Linked DNA regions of Homo sapiens: all the other regions are linked to region 1. Evidence: promoter capture Hi-C in human tissues and cell types (Jung and others, 2019). All regions are on one chromosome and are shown on one strand. Each heading gives the region's core, a stretch centred on a gene start or on the middle of the fragment in contact. The rest is flanking DNA. Distances are from core to core; before and after follow the strand shown. Region 1 holds the start of LGALS4 (galectin 4). Region 2 overlaps LOC124904713 (a long non-coding RNA gene). Region 3 holds the start of SIRT2 (sirtuin 2).

Region 1 (2,663 bases), core at 1-2,500:
TCAACGTGTTAAGGCCCTTTTTAAAAAGCTAAGACTGGGCCAGGCGCAGTGGCTCACGCCTGTAATCCCAGCACTTTGGGAGGCCGAGATGGGAGGATCACTTGAGGTCAGGAGTTCGAGACCAGCCTGACCAACATGGTGAAACCCCATCTCTACTAAAAATACAAAAATTAGCCAGTGTGCTGGCACATGCCTGTAATCCCAGCTACTCAAGAGGCTGAGGCAGGAGAATCGCTTGAACCTGGGAGACAGAGGTTGCAGTGAGCCAAGATCATGCCATTGCACTCCAGCCTGGGCGACAAGAGCAAAACTCCATCTCAAAACAAAAAAAAAAACAAAAAAAACAAAAACAGAAAAGAAAAGAAAATGAAGCACAGAGAGGTATAGTCACTTTCACTCTTTCACCAACACAGAGCTGGGGAGTGGCAGAGCTGGGATTTTAACTCGGGGACCCGGCTCTGAGCCTGTGATCTGAATTCCTGCCATTGCACCCATCAGCTTCAGTCTAATGTCCAACTCAGGGACTGCCTCTCACGGTGAGCCCTCCCTGAACCTTCTGGCCCCCACGTCCCCACTCCTGATCTGCCCCAGATTCATCTCTGGCTATTGGGTGGGGCAGAAAAAGAGTCCCCTCTCCACCAGGGTGGGGTAAGGGCAGAAAGCCCCCAACAGCCAGGCCCAGAGCACCCAGTTGGAAGTCCCCTGCCAGCCCGGCCTGGCTTGGGGAGGGTCTTACCGCTTCATGTGCTCGCTGGCCACTCCTTGGATGTAAACAGACATTCCCACGTTGAGCCCGCCCGGGATGGGCTGGTAGTAAGGCAGCGTCTGGAGAAGAGGCCTGGTGAGGGGACTCACAAGCCATCTGCCTGTTGCAGCCTTTACCCCTCCCAGAAAAGCCCCCCAGTCCCTTAAGCAGGAGAGAGGAAACCATGGGGGAGGACCAGGTTGAAGATGACGAGGGCCAACAGTTAGACGTGGACACAGACAGCCTGAGGTCAGGGTAGGAGTAAATCGAGGGTCGGGGTCAGCTTTGGGTAAATCAGACCACAGAGTCAGATGGGGCCCCCCAGGATCAGAGTGGGGAAAATTGGTGTGAGGGCTTATGGACGGAGCTGCGGGCGGAGTGGGGCCTGAGCTGGCATCTCACCGGGTTGTAGGTGGGCTGGTAGCCCGGTGCGGGGACATAGGCCATCGCTCGAGGCTGCGCTAGTGGCTGGTCCTGTGAGAAGAGCTGCAGGAGTGGGAGATGGTGGCGGATGGCAGGCGGTGGTGGCTCTTATACCCAGGGTAAGGGAGTGGCTGGCAGGGGAGGGTCCACAGGGCTCCTCTTCTGGGACTCTCAGGCTGTCGGCTTCTCCTAGAGCGCACCCTAGTCTCCCTTCCCTTGCCAGCTTCCCTGGTGACCAGCCAGGACCCAAATCACCTGGGTCCCCTCCCCTACGCCCTCCTGCAAAGAGGAAGTGCTCATGAACTTCGGCCCTGCCAGGGCCTTATCAGAGCCCATAAAACCCTGCCCAGACTTCTGTTGGCAGAGGGAGGGTGAGACCAGGCAGGGCAGGGCAGGCTGCAGGAATGACCCAGGACAGGTGGGCAGCGGAGGAGGAGAACGCGGAGGAACTGCAAATTCCTGCCTCTCCCAGCAACTGTGAAGGGACCTACGTTGATTGCGTGCCCACCACACATCTTTACCACGTATGTTGTATTGTAGGGAGAGTGGTTTAGATTACTAGTGTGTGGAGCCAGAGGTTCTAGGTTCAAATCCTGCCTTTGCCACTTCTCAGCTGTATGATCATGGGTCAGTGCCTTACCCTCAATTTGCCCATGTGCTCATCTGTAAAATGGGGATATAGTAGTATCGGCTGGGTGCAGTGGCTCATGCCTGTAATCCCAGCACTTTGACTGGCCGAGGTGGATGGATCACCTGAGGGCAGGAGTTCGAGACCAGCCTGGCAAAATCCCAGTCTCTACTAAAAATACAAAAATTAGCCAGGCATGGTGGTGGGTGCCTATAATCCCATCTACTTGGAGGCTGAGGCAGGAGAATCACTTGAACCTGAGTGGAGGAGAGTGCAGTGAGCCAAGGTCACGCCACTGCACTCCAGCTTGGATGACAGATGGAGACTCTGTTTCAAAAAAAAAAAAAAAAAAAAAGGAATTCATAAGAGAGGAAACAAGTATTGAATAGCTATCAAAATATTTTAAAAATGAATTTGTGATCCAGTAATGCCTGTATGTTATTAATCTGCCAAATAAGTTCTAGCTGTGGGTCCAACTGCCACTCAGAAAAATAAATAAATAAAGAAAAGAGTAGTATCAACCTTAGGCTGGGTGTGGTGGCTTGTGCCTACAATCCCAGCAATTTGGGAAGCTGAAGCAGGAGGACTGCTTGAGCCCAGGAGTTCAAGACCAGCCTGGGCAACATAGTGAGACCCCCATCTCTACAAAAATAAAATAAAAATTAGCTGGGCATGGTAGCACACATCTGTATTCCTAGCTACTCAGAGGCTGAGGCAGGAGGATCGCTTGAACCCAGGAGTTAAGGTTACAGTGAGCTATGATCATGCCACTGCACTCCAGCCTGGGTGACAGACTAAGAGTCCGTCTCTAAAAATAGCAACAATAATAGTCATAATAATAATAATCATAATAGTATCAACTTCATA
Region 2 (2,663 bases), core at 58-2,557, 120 kb after region 1:
ATCCATTTGAATGGGTTACTAGCTGCTAATCTGTCTGCAGCTCCTTCAAGCACTCCAGTTCCTGGCATTAAGTTCACGTGTGCCTGGGATACTTTAAATATTTGTTCTTTCAATTTTGCAATATCCAAATACAAGTTTGTAGAGTGGCCTTCTAGATGCTTTTTTATTCTTTCCCAAATTTTGATTTTATTAAGAGCTATTAACAGTTTCCACAAATGCTTATGTTTAGCTCCTAGAGCAGGCCATATCATTTGAGGCTGAGGTGCCACTATACTGCCATGGTTCCAGATAATAGGAACTCTTGCTGTATTTCTTACCATTTCTATCATCTGACCATTTTGTTCAGATGAGCTGATCACAGTGTGGCCATGGCATGCAGACTGAGAGGTGCAGTTCAAGCTAAACATCCCCATAGGTGACCAATTAATAATGATTCCATAGGAATTGTTGTGCAGCACCTCTGCCTGTTCTGCAAAGCAATCTTCCTAAACAAGTACGTTCATTTTTGCTAACTGGGTCCAATCCTGTTTACAAATATGTTTTTGAGGGCAGTATGCCTCAATTATAGGAGCAGATTTATTATGAGATCAGAAAGCTTGTATAACTGTGTCATAGAGTGATTACATCCAGGCATTATTGCCAGCCAAGATTGATAAATATGCCCAATAAGTATAATTGTCCTCTGTGTCAGCCCTTATTGAAGGAATACTCATGGCAGTGGTGATCATCGCTATCATAGCTACCATTAAATTACTCATTGCGACTGGTTGTCCCACTTTCCTCAGGTTTTCTTCCACCATCTGTGACAGCTTCTTGATCTGTCTCCAGGTGGGTGGCTGTGTTTGACAGGTGTTGCTCGTGACAGTTGGGGTCTTCCTCAGCGTCAGTCTCGACATGGCTGCAACCGGGGGTGGGGGGGGTCCTCAGTTTCCTCCCGGAATCTCTTCCTCAGCATCTGGCTCATGATAAGGTTTCAGGTGTCTTGATGGTATCCAAATCGGCTGTTGAGTCAGTCCTGGAGAAACACAAGCATAACCTCTACCCCAAGTTATTATTTTACCTATTTCCTAACTTTTTGTTATTGGATCTCTCCACCAAACTAGTTGTTCTGCTTCTGTCTTTGCAGCTGGTTTCTGTAGATGCTGTTCAGCTACTGATAGGATCTGGCCTTTAGGCAGGCTCAAAAAATTTAAAGTTAACAATGCTAGATTCAGTTGCATATGGGGTGTCCCGTAGTCCTTGTTTTCCCCCCTTTTTTTTGCTTTTGCAACTGCTGTTTCAGGGAGAGATTCATTCTTTCCACTATGGCTTGTCCTTGAGAATTATATGGGATACCAGTAATGTGTTTAATATTCCGTATAGAGAAAAATGTAGCTAGAGCTCGGCTAGTGTAGCCTGGGGCTTTATCTGTTTTAATAGAAGCTGGAATGCCCATCACTGCAAAACACTGCAAAAGGTGACGCCTGGAAGAGGTGTATGAGCCCTAATGTGAGTGATGTAAAAAGGGTGCATTCTACTCCTAACTGCTGTTTGCAGTTGGGTAAATAAAATCATCAGTTGTTCATCTGCAGGAAATTGTAACTGAGCATTTTCAGTTAATTGTGTGGAATGAATCACGTATGAAGAGTCAGAAATCACATTAATAGGCATATGAAAAGCAGTCACTACCTCAATTACAGCTACAGGCTCCACTTTTTGAGCTGAAGTATAGGGCATCTGAAAAACTTTACTTTTTGAGCCAGAATAAGAAGCTTTACCATTACTAGACCCATCTGTAAAAACATTTTCAGCACCTTCAATTGGTTTAAATTTAGTTATTTTAGGGAGAATCCAATTAGTTAATTTCAAAAATTAAAACAGTTTTGTTTAGGAAAATGGTTATCGAGAATACCCACAAAGTCAGCTTAATTGGTTTGCCAAGTAAGACTATTTATAAAAGCTTGCTGTATTTGTGCCTTTGTGAGAGGGATAATAATTTTTCCAGGATCATATCCATGTAATTTAACAATCCGAGTTCTCCCATTTCCTATCATAGTAGCAATTTGATCCAAATAAGGAGTTAGAGTCCGTGAATTAGTATGTGGAAGAAAAAGCCACTCTACAAGATCTCACTCTTGAACAATAACACCAGTAGGTGAATGCTGAGTTGGAAAAATTAGCAAATCTAGAGTCTTCTCTGGATCTAATCTATTTATTTGAGCTTTATGGACTTGCTTTTCGATTAGCCGCAGCTCTGCCTCAGCTTCTCTTGTTAATTACCGAGGGCTTGTGAGACCAGGATCTCCTCTAAGGATAGAAAATAGATTACTCATGGCATAGGTAGGAATGCCTAGAGCAGGTCGTATCCAATTAATGTCCCCTAGTAATTTTTGAAAGTCCTTTAATGTTTTCAATTGATTCCTATGTATGGTTGCTTTCTGTGGCACAATGGTAGTGTCATTTACTAAGGTCCCCAAGTAGGAGTAAGGAGTAGTAGTCTGAATTTTGTCAGGAGCTATAATTAAACCAGCGCAAGAAATCGAATTTTGTAAGTGATCATAACATTGGAGTAATACTTCTCGAGTGGGGGCAGCACAAAGTATATCATCCATATAATGAATAATGTAACACTGTGAAAACTTTTAACGAGTAGGTTCAATTGCTTGCCCTACATAAGTCTGGCA
Region 3 (2,663 bases), core at 78-2,577, 87 kb after region 1:
GACTGTTTCCCCTTTGCCACCTCCCCCCAGTGTGGGATGTGGAACAAGTCCGTCTCTCTCCTCCCCTCCACCCTTTCCCCCATCTCACCTGAGCCTCCTGCACCTTCCCTGCCTGGGTCTCCAGAGGGTGAGAGGCTGGGGGAGGGGAGCAGAGGTGGTTACAGTGGGGAGAACGATTAAGGGGGGAATAAAGGGGTTCAAATGGTCAGTGAGGGGGCAAGAACACCCACCAACCTAGTTACACTGGGATGGGATGGTGGTAAAAATGGAGCAGAGGGAGGGAGGGGACGGAGAAAAGATCTTATCTACATGCAAAGTGATGCCGGGAGAGGTGATTAGTGAGGGGCAGAGAGGCTGGAGAGGAAGATTTAGGGGGACAGGGAGAAAGTAGGGGCTTTTGCCCAGGCTGGTCTTGAACTCCTGGGCTCAAGCGATCCAACCACCTTGGCCTCCCAAAGTACTGGGATTACAAGCATGAGCCATTGTTTCTGGCCCTGACTTACTTTCTTTCTTTTTTACTTTTTAGAGAAAGGGTCTCGCTCATGTCACCCAGGTTGGAGTGCAATAGTGCGATCATAGCTCACTGCAGCCTCAAATTCCTGGGCTCAAGCGATCCTCCTCCTCCTACCTAGGGGATTCAGGGCATGAAGGAACACTCAGGAGGAGTTAGGAAGGACACGACAGTGTGTGAGTGTGTGTGCGGGGAGGGTTAGATTTACAAGGCAGAGGGAAGTTTAGAAAGGAAAAGAGAAGGGAAGAGACGCTTTGGCTGGGAGGCAGGTTTAGGAGGGAGGTGCAGTGGTGCAGTGGAGGCGGTAGGTTTAGGAGAGGCGCGGAACAAGGGGAAGCCATAGGAGGGGTCAGCAGGGGTCCCTCAGCATCCTCTGGTTGCCTCTAACAATCAGGTACCCATAGCAAGCGGGACCGGGGCAACTTATGTTCTTTGCAGCGAGGGACCTTAGCAACCAAGGTGCGAGAAACACGCGATCATTGGCAACTTGGCAAGTGGATGTGGTAAACGAACCCTGAACACACTGCGACCCAGAAACCCACCAGCCTAGCGATACAGATCGCTAAGCAACAGCCCTCAGAATCCCACTCCCCGAAGCGCTCCCTACTTCCCGCCCCACCGCGGCCACCCTTGGGCCCCGGGGCCTGCAGCATTCAGCCAGGCCCCGGCGCGGCCCGACCCTCCTACCCGGATCCCCGACTCACGGTCTGGCTCTGCCATGGGCGCGGTGCTGAAGCCCTTGAGGCTGTCACCGACCGCTCTGTCCCGTCACCAACCACTGTGTCCCGTCACCGACTGCTCTGTCCTGTCACCGACTGCTCTGTCCCGTGACGGCACCAGAAATGGGAGTGGCCGTGATAGGGCACAGAACTACAACTCTCAGCAGACATTGCGGCCGCAGACGCGCTTTCGTACAACACCCAGAGCGCCCCAGTTAGGTAAGAAAGCGCGCGAGGACCGGACTACGAGTCCCAGAAGGCGTGGCGTCAGCAGCCATGTTGGTAAAGGGCGCCCGGAAAATGTGGGAACGGCTAGAGAGTTGTAGTCCTCCCGAATACTCTGATTGGTCAGGATGCAGTACGAGGGCGGGGTGTGAGCGATTCAGCATATTATCATTGGGTGAATCAGGGGGCGTGGTGGGGAATTTCCCGCAGGGCGGAAGCTCCAGAACTCCCGGCAAAGCCCAGCTACAGGCGGGCGACTGCGGGGGGCCCCTGAGGCGGCGGGGGCCATGGCTGGGGTCGCGTGCTTGGGAAAAGCTGCCGACGCAGATGAATGGTGCGACAGCGGCCTGGGCTCCCTGGGTCCGGACGCAGCGGCCCCCGGAGGACCTGGGTTGGGCGCGGAGTTGGGCCCGGGGCTGTCGTGGGCTCCCCTCGTCTTCGGCTACGTCACTGAGGATGGGGACACGTGAGTGAACCTTAGGCTGCCAAACGGAGCCCTAGGACCCGGCGTCACATTCCTCATTAATCTCTGATCCCTGAGGCTTCCTAACCTCATACTCCTAAATCTGACTTCCGATGCTGAACTTCCTGACCTCTAACCCCCGAGTCCTAACTTTTAACAAAACCAATCTTCTATCTAGCTATGATCCTAACCCAATCATTTCTTACCTTCTTTTCTTGAACTATGATTCTCAGCTCCTGGAATCCACATTGTATCCACTGATACCCAAACCTGACTCCAGTCCTGAGACTTCTGTTAGAACTGTGGCTTCTCCTGACTTCTAACCTCCAAATATGATCTTTGATTCTTAGTTCCCGATTTGAGCCCTAGAGTTTGATTTCCGAAATTAATACTTGGTCCCTGACTCTAAGATCCTGTCTTCTGAGCAGTGTTCTTCAAATCTTAAATTCAAAGAGAGAGAATGTAAGCTCTTCTATGTTGAATTCCTAATTAAAGTAAAAAAATAGGAAAATTAAAAAAAAGAATGTTAGCTCCATGAGACCAAGGATTCATCTGTTAAACAAATATTCTTTACACATTACCACGTTCCAGGCTCCGTTTAGGTGCTAGTGATAAAGGCAGTGAAGAAAACAAACAAAAACTTAAGCCCTTGTGGAGCATACATTTTAGTGGAGCTAAATAAACAGATTGATAAGACCACAAGGAAGGAAAGAAATGGAAAGACAGGAAGAAACAAAGAAAGACA

The links. The method cuts DNA at HindIII sites, captures the fragments that hold promoters and counts their contacts. A contact is called where the count stands out against the background at its distance.
Region 2: a fragment that was not itself captured here is called in contact with the fragment with the promoter of LGALS4 in region 1 in 5 of the 25 tissues and cell types used here (dorsolateral prefrontal cortex, lymphoblastoid cells, mesenchymal stem cells and 2 more).
Region 3: a contact is called between the fragment with the promoter of SIRT2 here and the fragment with the promoter of LGALS4 in region 1, in 3 of the 25 tissues and cell types used here (aorta, liver and spleen).

The regions. Positions count from the first base shown.
Region 1 is chr19:38,811,695-38,814,357 of GRCh38, forward strand. LGALS4 (galectin 4) reads right to left here and starts at 1,251. Exons shown (of 10, transcript NM_006149.4): 1 at 1,148-1,251; 2 at 737-825. The coding sequence starts at 1,192. The HindIII fragment of the contact is 29,723 bases long and covers 1-2,663 here.
Region 2 is chr19:38,935,838-38,938,500 of GRCh38, forward strand. It overlaps LOC124904713 (a long non-coding RNA gene), which reads right to left. Exons shown (of 2, transcript XR_007067253.1): 2 at 1-1,015. Among named protein-coding and RNA genes, the nearest start is that of MRPS12, 6.2 kb to the left of the region's middle. The HindIII fragment of the contact is 4,061 bases long and covers 1-2,663 here.
Region 3 is chr19:38,898,291-38,900,953 of GRCh38, forward strand. SIRT2 (sirtuin 2) reads right to left here and starts at 1,328. Exons shown (of 16, transcript NM_012237.4): 1 at 1,216-1,328; 2 at 89-135. The coding sequence starts at 1,231. It overlaps NFKBIB (NFKB inhibitor beta), which reads left to right and starts at 1,679. Exons shown (of 6, transcript NM_002503.5): 1 at 1,679-1,921. The coding sequence starts at 1,743. The HindIII fragment of the contact is 18,718 bases long and covers 1-2,663 here.